3 separate regions of the Homo sapiens genome follow, and all the other regions are linked to region 3. The links are contacts of gene promoters, found by promoter capture Hi-C in blood cells and fetal thymus (Javierre and others, 2016). All regions are on one chromosome and are shown on one strand. The core of a region is centred on a gene start or on the middle of the fragment in contact, and the rest is flanking DNA. Distances in the headings are between cores, read along the strand shown.

Region 1 (4,396 bases), core at 1,225-3,724, 210 kb after region 3:
GTCCCTGAAATCACAGCCTGGGAAGCCCTGAAGTAGAGCAGGTGCAGAAGCTGAGGCAGGCAGGGCTGCTTGCTGAGTGAACCAAACACACCTGATTTACCCAGGACCACTGGAGAGGCCTGGCTGGGCCCTACACGGAAGAACGCAGTTGACTCAAATGTCCTTGAAATCTTGAGCTACTAAACAGGTCTGTTCTCTTATATCACACATCATTCCAAAACAGATTTGCAGAAGATTACAAAACAAAACACAGTAGAAAGTGAGTAGGATCAGCTGTTACAAAGAGCAAGGAAATAGTTGGTCCCAGCACCTGCCTTAAGGTAAGCTCAGGCCTAGGCCCACAATATAAACACATACAGCTGAGTTCCATGCTGCCCTTCTTGCCCAGCCAAGAATCCCACTTCCTGCTCCAGAGGTACTGCCTACCTTCCTTCCCCTTTCCTCGGCCTTCTCCGAGAGAACTAAAGCTCTGTCCGTGGGCTCCAGGCAGACGGCTGCAGTGTGGCCTCTCACCCCCTCTGCAGGCAGGACGCTGCGCTGCAGCTCTCTGGGCCCTCTCCTCATCTCTTCAGAAGCATTTACCACCTGCCAGGCCCAGGGGATGGAGACAGGCAAGAGATCCCCCTTTTCCCTCTGGGAGCTCACGGTGCAAGGGCTGAGCCTGACACGAAAGCAGGCAATGACAATCCAGAGAGGAGATGCCAGCATCTAAGAAAATGAAGGAGCACAAGGATGGAATGATTAACTGCCTAGGGAGATTGGGGACACTTCACAGCAGGTGACTGCTAAAGTAAACCCTGTACAACAAACACAAAGTGGGTGAAGGGGAGGCATTCCAGGCAAAGGGAAAATGCATGCAAACCAGGAAAGCATAAAAGAGGGCACTGATTGGTCTGAGGTGCCTGACTTGATCACGTTACACTTCTTCTGGAGCTTCCTGCCAAAGCAGCCTGAAGAATAAAAATGAACGAAGCTGGACCTCTCATAAAGGTCTCCCACCTGCCATCCCCAGGAAAGCAAACCTTTCTTTCAAGAGCTTCCCCCGACCCCCAGCTTCCCACACCTGGTCTCCCTTACCCTCTCAAGAAAGGGCCCATCCTGTCTCAGTCAAGTGACAACCTCTGCACCCCTGGCCGGGTCTTTTCCCTCCTGTGTCTCAGTCTCCTCCTCTGTGGAGTGGGGAAAGAACCCTGTCTGCATCCATGTGAATCAGCCACATAACAGCTAGGAAGGCTCCTAGCACTGCGGGCAGAAGGACCCAGGAGACCCCAGGCCCTCAGGGGCATCCTGGGCAGGCCACAACCCCGAGCCTGCTGGTAAAGAGAGGTGATGCCACAAGACCATCCTCACAGATGGACCCAACTGCACCCGCAGCCACCCACTGCTCATAAACCTCCATAAAAATCAGTGATCCATGCAGTTTTTGTTTCAGGTGTTTTATTAAGTGGGCCATACTGTAGCTGGTTTCTAAGTTGCAAAACATAAATTTAATAATAATAACATAGCCAGTTAGATTGTGACAAGCTTTTCCTTTCCTTAAAAAAAGAAAATACTTAAAAACACACAATGGCGGGTTAAATAAATAAAACATTTTAAAAAAGAAAAAAGAAAAGAAAAACCTGTTAAAACATGCTTATGTTTACTTCTGTGAAACTGTGCCAACAGGAAATGTGGTATTTGGCACGATGACACATCCCGGCATGTCTCCTTCCCAAACAATACTGACAAAAAAGAAAATACGTGGGACTGACTCATCGGTGCTTGCTTAGAGGCACTACTAAAAATCCCTTTGATTGGAGCATGGGGCTTCCCGCGCAGCACACCTGTGTGTGGCCTATGAAAGCCAAATATCCATAATAATGTTAATATAGAAAAACATTAGTTTAAAAATGATGTGGAAGGGCCTCATTAATGCGACGGGGCAAGGAAACATAACTGTCCCGCACGCAGTGCCACAGGCTCAGTCCAGGGAGGCCTCAGGCTTCCAGCATGTGGCCACGGCGAGGGAGGGCACCAGCTTCAAAATAAGCGGCACCAGCCTCGCTCCCTCTCCCTATCACTCTTTCACATGAAAGTGTGTAAAAAGCAAATCAGCAAATAAACTCTAAAATAGATTATTTATTCCAAAAATCCTCTAGTTTTCTTTTTACAGTGAGTGTACATTTTGTCTCCTACTCCTGCACAATCGCTTAAGTCCCTTTGGGAAAAAAGGTCAGAGCTGCAGGGTGAGTCTTTCTCAGTCCTGCTGCTGGCTGGTGCTGGGAGGTCAGATGTCGATGCCCTTGACAAGGGACGTCTCCAGCGTGATGTTGAACTCCTGCAATGTCTGCAGCACACGAATCAAGGAATTGACAAGTGTATGGTCTTTGATCAGTGCCACATCCTCATACATGTGTGCAGTGATGGGGCAGTCAGCCAGCAGGGCAATCCAGTGGTGTAGGAGGTGATCTCTGGCAGAGCGGGAGCAGTCCAGGCAGGTCAGAGGGGCAAAGGAAAAGGAAGAGAGAGCGTTAGTGCAAGGCCAAGGGGGAAACCATGAACTAAGTCTGAAGCTGGAGAAGCTGACAGCCCCCCACACCCCCCTTTCCCAAACAGGGACTGGCAAAGAGGTCTTTCAGCTCCAGGACACCAAACAAACCTGACCCAAATCAGCCCTGTCATGAGCCTCCAAGCCTCCTCCTCCCCTGCCTCCCTCGCCCTGCCTAGTCAGCCCCACCACTGGTGTCTCCCAGAGCTTCTCTCCTCCCACAGCTACCACCACCAGGAATAATAATAAGCACTAACCTCACATAACACTCAGCATGTGCTGGCACTGACATAAGAGATTTAATCTTCATGATAACCCTGTGATATGAGGTAGGTACTATTATTATCCCCACTTTATAGATGAAGAAAGTAGGGTAGATGGAAGTTAAGTAGCTTGTCCAAGATCACATGGCTAGTAAATGGATAACTTGAGATCTGAACCTAGTGAATGCGGTTCTGGAGTCTGTTTTTAACCACTATGCCAATTCTCTCCCTTTATGCAGCCTGAATAAACTGCCTTAAGTTTATTTGAGCTTCATGCTCTCTCACCTGACCTACAGGAATAGCCCCTAATAATCATGTCCACTCTAATGCATACCACCCATAATATCAGATTAATATTACTTCAGTCCCCTGATGAAACAACTTTGTACTAATATGAAAAGAATCTTTCTCTGTCCCAGCTCAGGGGCCCTACCCTCCTTTCAACTGTGTTTCCTATTACTGCCCTTGCCACGTTCTGTTATTTCCTTCCATTAAAGGCTCACTTAAATACCAACTCCTCCCTGAAGTCTTCTCTGATCTTTCTCCTCTACCTTTTCAGCATATTGTATGAATGTACACTTCATTTTTGGACCCTCAAAACCTTCTTCCATGCTCTGTATTTAATTAGGACAAGTAAGCTTCTAAATGTTGGCCAGGCATGGTGGCTCACGCCTGTAATTTCAGCACTTTGGGAGGCCAAGGAAGGCAGATCACCTGAGGTCAGGAGTTCAAGACCAGCCTGACCAACATGGAGAAACCCCGTCTCTACTAACAATACAAAACTAGCCAGGCGTGATGGCGCATGCCTGTAATCCCAGCTACTCGGGAGGCTGAGGCAGGAGACTCACTTGAACCCAGGAGGCGGAGGTTGTGGTGAGCCGAGATCACACCATTGCACTCCAGCCTGGGCAACAAGAGCGAAACTCCATCTCAAAATAAATAAATAAATAAATAAATAAATGGTAAGGGGCCACGTTTTATTCAGCTGTCTTCCTACCAACTTCCATAAGGCCATTTAAATGTCTAATGAAGGAATAACTAGATATACTCTGCTTCAAACTTCCCCAGTGGTGTGATTTTGATCTTTCCTTTCAAAATGGGGCCCCTCTGCCCCGAGTTACATACACGTTGTCATCCCTACCCCGACAGATCACCACACACATAAGTCACGTGTTGCTTAATGACAGGGATACAGTCTGAGAAATGTGTCATTAGACAGTTTCGTCACCATGCGAACTTTATAGGGTTCTCATACAAACCTAGATGGTAGAGCCTACTATATGTCTAGCCTGTTGCTCCTAAGCTACAAATCGGTACAGCCCTGTCACCAGCCCCCAGGCCTGCTCTTCTACACTTCTCCTGGAGCTTCCTGCCACAGCAGCCTGAAGAATAAAAATGAAGGAATACTGTGCTGAATACCGTAGGCAACTAAAACACAATGGTAAGTATTTGGGTACCTAAACATCTCAACCTATAAAAGGTACAGTAAAAACAGAGTATAATCTTATAGGACCATCATCCCATAAACAGTCCGTCACTGACAAATGTTGTTACGCAGCACATTTTATGCAGTGTGTGACCATACACGATACACAGAGGAAATTCA
Region 2 (4,486 bases), core at 1,133-3,632, 180 kb after region 3:
CACTGGAAGATGTAGTAGGCATTTGGCTGCCTTGTAAGTATACATCACTCCTTCTCTCTAACAATGCCCAGCTTTTAATTTATTAATTTCATTCGGATATCTACCGCTCCTCTAAGCAACACATGCCTTCGGAAAACTGACCCCAATTCCAGCTCCAGGGGTGGAACCTAATTAAATTAGCACATCCCATCTTTCTGGTCACAGACATTGGTCTAAAGGCAGGCATGTTAACAAAGCCAGAAGAATCATGATGAGAAGCAAGAATTCAAGAATTTTGCTTGAATTGCTGACACAAAAGCACTCTCATGTCTGCTTGATGTAATCAAGAAAACAAGTAGTCCTTGCTTCTGTCTTGCTACCATGGATGAAGCCAACCTGAGGAAAAAGCTCATACACAGAAGAGGGAAGAGCCTGGAATCTCAGAGAAATAGAACTGGGCCCTGCTCAAACCTTACCTGAACTCTATATTAGAGTTATGTAGAAAGAGATTGATTAATGGGTTTAGCAGCAGCTAAAGTGAATTGGAAAACAGATTGGAAGAAAATATCCACAATGAATAACCAGATTCATGGAGAGGCAAAGGGATTGAAAATACAGATATGAACATAAAAGACATACAGAATACAGTGCTAAGGTCTAACGTATGTGTAAACAGAATCCTGGAAGGACAGGGGAGAAAATTTGAAAAAGCAGTATCTAAAGAGATAGTGGATGAAGAATTTCTAAAACTGACAAAAGACAAAGCCCCAGATTCAGGACACATTGTGAAACCCACGCTGAATAAATACCACATTCAGGCAAATAATAGTAAATTATTTTTAAAAAATGACAAAGAAACAATATCAAAAACAGTAAAGAATCGAGAGATTACCTTGACTGGAACAACAACAATGAGGCTGCCAGGTAACTTATCAGTGGAAACTGTAGAAGCCAGAGACAATGGAATATCTTCAAAGTTCTGAAAGAAAATAAGCGCTAATCCAGAATTTCATACCCAGCTAACATGTCCTTCTAAAGGATGAGATGATTTAACTCCAGCAAACCCCTGTTAATGGAAAATACTGAAGGGTGTTCTTGAAGCAGAAGAATATAGGCATTCTAGACACAGGCATTAATGAAGAACATCAAAAAAGGGGGAAGGCTAGATAACTATTGTATTTTTAAAATAATAACAATAATGTAATAACATCTAATGGGTTTAAATATATACATTTAATATTCAATATATTTTTATTACATATATTTATTGTTGTACATAATATATATATGTGTATATATATATAGAGAGAGAGAGAGAGAGAGAATTAAAATATATAACAACAGTAACATATAAGTCCAGACAAGAAATGAAGTTATTCTAAAGGTCCTTACATTGTCTGGAAAGAGAAAGAGTAATAATTTAGATTAGACATTGATAAGCCAGTGCATATTATAATTTCATGGGTCACTACTAAAGGAAGAGTAAAGGAATAGAATTACCAAGCTAACAGAAGGGGAAAATAAAATAATTGAAGAATTCAAAGAATTGAAATTATACAGATTGTGTAAGTGTGTCTTGGACACAGCTTAAGCTAAAACTAATAAGAAAAAGAACAGCAAATTAAACCCAAGGAAACAACCCAAGTAATTAATCACACTGCTTTATTAAAAGAGAAAAAAAGTACATAATTATCTCAATAGGGGCACAAAAATCTTCTGATAAAAGTCAACATCCGGCCGGGTGCGGCAGCTCGGGCCTATAATCCCAGCACTCTGGGAGGCCGAGGCAGGCGGATCACGAGGTCAGGAGATCAAGACCAGCCTGACCAACATGGTGAAACCCCGTCTCTACTAAAAATACAACAAATTAGCTGGGTGTGGTGGCAGCCACCTGTAGTCCCAGCTACTCGGGAGGCTGAGGCAGGAGAATGGCATGAACCCGGGAAGCGGAGCTTGCAGTGAGCTGAGATTACGCCAGCCTGGGTGACAGAGCGAGACTCCTTCTCAGAAAAAAAAAAGTCAACATCCATTTATGATAATAATGCTTAGCAATCTAAGAGTAGAAGGGAATTCTCTTAATCTGATAAAGAATATCTACCCCAAACCTAGAGCAAACTCACATTTAATGGTGAAAACTTAAAAGCTTCTCTGCAACAGGGAACACAGTAGAATACCTGCTATCATCACTTCACCATTGTACTAGGAATCCTAGGTAAGTCAATAAGACAAGAAAAAGAAATTAAGTCTAAGGGTTGGAAAGGGATAAAAATGAATTATTCACAAACAGTATCAGTGTGGATTTAGAAACTTTTTAAAAGTACAGGCATACCTCAGAGATATTATGGGTTCAATTCCAGACCACCACAATAAAGCAAATATTACAATAAAGTGAGTCACACAAATTTTTTTGTTTCCCATTGCATATAAAAGTTATGATTGGGCAGGAATGGTGGCTCACATCTGTAATCCCAGCACTTTGGGAGGCCAAGGTAGGTGGATTGCTTGAGCTCAGGAGTTCAAGGCTAGCTTGGGCAACATGGCAAACCCGTCTCTACAAAAATTACAAAAATTAGCTGGGCATGGTGGCACAAGCCTGTGGTCCTAGCTACTTAGGAGGCTGACAGGTGGAAGGATTACTGGAGCCCAATAGGTCAAGGCTGCAGTAAGCTTAGATCATGCCACTGTACGCCAGCCTAGGCAACAGAATGAGACCCTGTCTCAAAAAAAAAAAAAAAAGTTATGTTTACACTACACTATAGTCTATTGTACAATAGCATAATGTCTAAAAATGTACATTCTTTAATTTAAAAATACTTTATTGCTGAAAATGCTAACAGTCATCTGAGTCTTCAGCGAGTTGTAATCCTTTTGCTGGTGGAGGGTCTTGCCTCAATATTGATGGCTGCTGACTGCTCAGGGTGGTGGTTGGTTGCTGAAGGCTAGGGTAACTGTGACAATTTCTGAAAATAAGACAACAATGAAGTTTGCCACATAATTGACTCTTTCTTTCACAAAAGATTTCTCTATAGCATGCAACGCTGTTTGATGGGATTTTTACCCACAGTAAAACTTCTTTCAAAATTGGAGCCAATCCTCTCAAACCCTGCCGCTGCTTAATCAGCTAAGTTTACATAATTTTCTACCTCTTCTGTTGTCATTTCAACAGTGTTCACAGCATCTTCACCAGGAGTAGATTCCATTTCAAGAAACCACTTTCTTTGTTTATCCATAAGAAGCAACTTCAAGTTTAATCATAAGATTACAGCAATTCAGTCACATCTTGAGGCTCCACTTTTAATCCTAGTTCTCTTGCTGTTTCTGCCACATCAGTAATTACTCCCTCCACTGAAATCTTGAACCTGTCAGAGTCATGCATGAGGGCTGGAATCAACTTCTCCCAAATTCCCATTAATGTTGATATTTTGACCTCCTTCCATTAATCATAAATGTTCTTAATAGCATCTAGAATGGTGAATCCTTTATAGAATATTTTCGTTTTGCCCAGGTCCATCAGAGGAATCACTATGTATGGCAGCTATAGCCTTATGAAATGTATTTCTTCAATAAGACATGGAAGTCACACCTACTCCTTGATCTATGGGCTGCAGAATGAATGCTGTGTTAGCAAGCATGAAAACAACATGAATCTCCCGTACATCTCCATCAGAGAGCTCTTGAGTGACTAGGTGCATTGTCAATTAGCAGTAGTATTTTGAAAGGAGTCTTTTTTTTTTTTTTTTTTTGAGCAGTAGGTCTCAACAGTGGGCTTAAGAGATTCAGTAAATCATGCTATAAACAGATGTGCTGTCATCCCAGCTTTGTTGTTCCATTTATAGAGCACAGGCTGAGTAAATGAGCACTGGCTTCAACTTAAAGTCACTAGCTGTATTCGTGCCTAACAAGAGAGTCGGCCTGTCCTTTGAAACTTCAAAGCCAGGCACTGACTTCCCCTCTCTAGCCATGAAAGTCCTAGATGGCATCTCCTTCCAAGAGAAGGCTGTTTCATCTACCTTGAAAGTCTGCTGTTTAGAGTAGCCACCTTCATCAGTGATCTTAGCTAGATCTGGATAACTTGCTGTAGCTTCTCTATCAGCACTTGCTGCTTCACCTTGCCCTTTTACACTATGAAGATGGCTTCTTTCCTTAAACCTCATGAACCAACCTCTCCTAGCTTCTGACATTTCTTCTGCAGCTTCCTCACCTATCTCAGCCTTCGCAGAGCTGAAGAGAGTTAGGGCCTTGCTCTGGATTAGTCTTTGGTTTAAGGGGATGTTGTGGCTGGTTTGATCTTCTATCCAGACCACTAAAACTTTCTCCATATCAGCAATAAGGCTATTTGACTTTCTTATCATTCATATGTTCACTAAAGTAGCACTTTTAATTTCCTTCAAGAACTTTTCCTTTGCTTTCCCAACCTGGCTAACTGTTTGGGGCAACAGGCCTAGTCTTCAGCCTATCTCAGCTTTTGACATGCCTTCCTCACTAAGCTTAATCATTTCTAGCTTTG
Region 3 (3,909 bases), core at 1,246-3,745:
TGCCAGGTAGGTCAATCCTAAGGCGGCGTGTGGGATTCCAGGATGAGGCGTGGAAGCTTGGATAGTAATGCCGAGGGTGTGAAATTGTAATGCCACTTGATGCTGTGGGGTCAGAGGGATGAGGAAGTGTTTGGGCAGGGACAACCCAGAGGAGCTAAGGGGCTGTGGGACAGAAAAAGGAGATGCTAGTTCCAGAAAATGTTGTGGTCAGGGCCAGTTGGCCTAGGGGAGTTGTTGAGTCAGGGTTTGGGTTTTTGAAGAAGCCATTTTACTTTGTGGGCAAGGCTGAATGCAAAGGGGGCCTGTCTGCCTCCTGCTGCCATCAACATGCCGTCACTGCACCCAGGCTGTTCGTGCTGAGGAGCTCCTGCAGACCCATGCTGAGCTGCCCTCAGCCCCCCTCAGCCTCCTTCCTGTGCTTGTTGGCATCTAAAGTCCCATGCTTAACTCTAGCCTTGAACAGGATGGTCCACCGGGTGGATCACGAAAGGGAGCCATTAAGGATCTTTCAAGCTGGCATGTCCCTAATGTGGGCAGAATGGATCAGGCAGCAGGAATGCGAGTCCCTGGAGATGACACGCTCCACATGTGTATATAGGGCTGTGGTGCCTTTGGCCTCTTGTATCCACGCTTTAGAAAGCAGACTGAGGATCCTATTCAGGAAAATCCTGGACAAAGGAGGGGTACCGAGGGAACCTGAAGAGGGACCTGGAGACCCCACATTAGCTGATTTCTCATATGGTGGCTGAGCAAGTCTCTTTTTTTTTTTTTTTGGTTTTGTTTTGTTTTTGAGACAGAGTCTCACTCTGTTCCCTAGGCTCGAGCGCAGTGGCGCTGTCTCGGCTCACTGCAACCTCTGCCTCCCGAGTTCAAGCAATTTTCCTGCCTCAGCCTCCTGAGTAGCTGGGAATACAGGCATGTGCCACCACGCCCAGCTAATTATTGTTTTTTCTTTGAGACAGAGTCTCACTCTGTCACCCAGGCTGGAGTGCAATGGTGCGATCTCGGCTCACTGCAACCTTTCCACCTTCCGAGTTCAAGCAATTCTCTGCCTCATCCTCCTGAGTAGCTGGGATTACAGTCACCCGCCACCATGCCTGGCTAATTTTTATATTTTTAGTAGAGACGGGGTTTCACCATCTTGGCCACGCTGGTCTCGAACTCCTGACCTTGGGTGAACCACCTGCCTTGGCCTCCCAAAGTGCTGGGATTACAGGCATGAGCCACCATGCCCAGCCAATTTTTTGTGTGTTTTTAGTAGATGGGGTTTTGCCATGTTGGTCAGACTGGACTCGAACTCCTGACCTCAAGTGATCTGCTTGCCTCGGCCTTCCAAAGTGCTGGGATTGTATACAGGTGTGAGCCACTGCGCCCAGCCAAGTCTCAGCATTGATGGTAAAATGAGCTATAAACTTGGTAACTGGCTATCCCTAACTGCCTTCTCTTACTCATGCCAACTGCAGCATCTGCAACTCTGCTAAAGCCAGATCAACCCTGGAGGGCTCTGGGAGCACAATGTAGGCTGGAGTGACAGACCCCACACAGATATGCCAATCATAGGCCAAACAATGACGACCCCTTTCCACCTTCTCAGGAAGCAAGTCTGTCCACCAAGGTCTACCACCAACAGCCAAGAACAAAGGAAAAAGAAAAGGGCATCCACTTCCCCCAGAGGGGCAGAGACAGGTACCTTGCAAGGGGCTTGTGCCCGGTGAGCCAGGGTGCTTGGAGGGCAAAGGGGTAGGTGAAGGAGAGGTCCCAAGGTGGAGCAGCACCGTCCCAGCCAGGGGCCTTCAGGCTTGTGGCCACGCTGCAGTATTTGAGCAAAGGCATCCTGGGCCCCGTGGAGGATTCCATGGCCTTCAGAGGATCCACCTGAGAATAGGCACCACCATTACCTGAGCTGCAGCTTGAAGCAAGCAGTGGCCACCGGGGCGAGGCAGGGCTCAGCTCTGCAGTTAGCTGCCTCTGGGGACAGTTGAGTCCATGCACGGCCCTACCTGCTCCCACAAACTCTCACAGTTTCCTCTTTGAGTCACCTGCCTTGGGAACCTCCACTCAGGAAACAGGGAAGGGATTGGAAGAGCAAGTGCTGTGAGTTTAGAGCAGCCCAGCTTTAAATCCTCCCCTACAGCCTGCTGGCTGTGTGCTCACTTAACCTCTGCTCTCCAGTTACACTCAGGATAGAATACATGGAAAGCACCTGGCGTATTCAGCAGCTCAACTTATGTTAGTATTTTTCCTCCTTCCTCCTCCCCGGCCACCTACAAGGCTAGTTCTGGCCTCAGGCAAGCTGAGATCTCAGGGCCGTCCATCCCCTTTCCAGCCCTGTTCAGAGGAGACAGCTGCCACCAGGGCCCAAGATCAAGCCGCACTGCTGCAGCCCACCAGAGCCCCGTGAGGGTCTGCCCCTGCCCAAGTCCACAGGTCTGACCCCACAAGGACTTACCCACAGCCCCAAACTCCCAGCCTCCACCTCAGCCTCAGGCTCCTTCTGACAGTTGGGGCTCAGGGTCTCAGCCCAACCGACTCCTGGTTGCCACGCCGGTTACCATGGGTGCAGCCTGGGGACGCTGTCGTCTGTGGCCAGTGAGTGCACCGAGCATGCGGAGAGGGGGACAGGAGGCCTTGGGAGGTAGGGGTGGGGCAGGAAGTGATGGGGGAGGGGGTGTTCTCCAGGTTTCCCTTTGGAGAGAAGAGGAGGAGGAAGAAGGGAAAAAGGCCAGTGTAGCCTCAGTTCTCCAAAGCTCAGGCTGCTCCACTGCTGGAAGAGTCAGTGGTGGTGGGAAGCCCTCACGGATCCCAGGAGACTCCTGTGAGGGAGGAGCCACCTCCGCAGAAACTGAGGGCGTCCTCCCTGTACACACTAGAGGCAGGAATGGGGGAGCCACTGGCGGCCTGGGGACTCTAGGATAGAATTTGTCCCTAGTCTAAACCAAAATAACCAAAGGTGTGGGCCTGTTTGTCTATAACAGGCAGGACTCTGTTGAGGAGCAGAGGTGTTGTGACCATTTGGAGTGAGAGGTGTGGACACTGGCAACAAAGGAACAGAAGTCCAGATTCTGCTTGTGGGAGGGGCTCGTATTTGGAGGCCTCTGCCAGTCACTGTGCACTGGTTATATGCCTGGTATGCAGGCACGTTTGGATGTGTCTCCCCCACATTCATACCCCGCTTCTACCAGGTCCTGTTTCAGTTGGCAGATCCATGTGGATAGGGAGGCCAAAGTACCCACCTCCAGGGGTAGAGTGGGTGTCAGTCACCCCTTCCATCCCCGTCTGGCCCCAGGGGTTGGTCAGGCAGTGGCGTGTTCCTGAACCTCTCCAATCAGCAGGAATCTGGAGACTTTGGTTGGGAATCCTGGGATATAGGCTTTCTCTTTCTTCCTATGCCTGAATAAGAAAGCTGATAGTTCTGAGAGCCTCTGACAGCCTTTTGGGAACACTGAAGCTATTCCCAGAGAAAGAGAGGATAGACCTCAGGAAATAGAGGGTTGGTTGGTTTGTTTGTTTTGAGACAGGGTTGCCCAGGCTGGCCTCAAACTCCTGGGCTCAAGGGATGCTTTTGCCTCAGTCTTCCAAGGAGCTCGGACTACAGCCATGCACCCCAACGCCCAGCTGAAAATAGGTTCTCGGTGACAGTACTGAGTCCTGCCTGCAGGCAGTGCTGCTACTCTAGGCCTCAGCTCTGTGAGCCAATAATTCCCCTTATTGATTATGCCACTCTGGATTGGGCTGTTTCTTACTTGCAACCAAAAGCCTCTTAACTGATGACTGCCCTCCCGAAGCATCACTTCATAGTCAGGAGAATGACTGCTGCCCAGGACCGTATACCAAGGCGGAGTTATTTGGCACACAGAGAGTCTAAGAAAGACCCATGGCCGGGCGCGGTGGCTCATGCCTGTAATCCCA

Evidence for each region. The method cuts DNA at HindIII sites, captures the fragments that hold promoters and counts their contacts. A CHiCAGO score of 5 or more calls a contact.
Region 1: a fragment that was not itself captured here is called in contact with the fragment with the promoter of C11orf16 in region 3 in 1 of 17 cell types (M2 macrophages); the score reaches 6.2 in M2 macrophages.
Region 2: a contact is called between a fragment that was not itself captured here and the fragment with the promoter of C11orf16 in region 3, in 1 of 17 cell types (M2 macrophages). The highest score is 5.3, in M2 macrophages.

Annotation. Positions count from the first base shown.
Region 1 is chr11:9,137,405-9,141,800 of GRCh38, forward strand. DENND5A (DENN domain containing 5A) reads right to left here. Exons shown (of 23, transcript NM_015213.4): 23 at 1,421-2,450. The coding sequence ends at 2,267. Among named protein-coding and RNA genes, the nearest start is that of SCUBE2, 48 kb to the left of the region's middle. RefSeq lists enhancers at 615-804, 1,618-1,912. The HindIII fragment of the contact is 1,904 bases long and covers 1,523-3,426 here.
Region 2 is chr11:9,111,300-9,115,785 of GRCh38, forward strand. It overlaps LOC105376542 (a long non-coding RNA gene), which reads right to left. Exons shown (of 4, transcript XR_007062585.1): 3 at 2,100-2,187; 4 at 539-958. Among named protein-coding and RNA genes, the nearest start is that of SCUBE2, 22 kb to the left of the region's middle. The HindIII fragment of the contact is 524 bases long and covers 2,121-2,644 here.
Region 3 is chr11:8,930,452-8,934,360 of GRCh38, forward strand. It overlaps C11orf16 (chromosome 11 open reading frame 16), which reads right to left and starts at 2,496. Exons shown (of 7, transcript NM_020643.3): 1 at 2,450-2,496; 2 at 1,691-1,875. The coding sequence starts at 1,857. RefSeq lists an enhancer at 2,115-2,953. The HindIII fragment of the contact is 4,544 bases long and covers 55-3,909 here.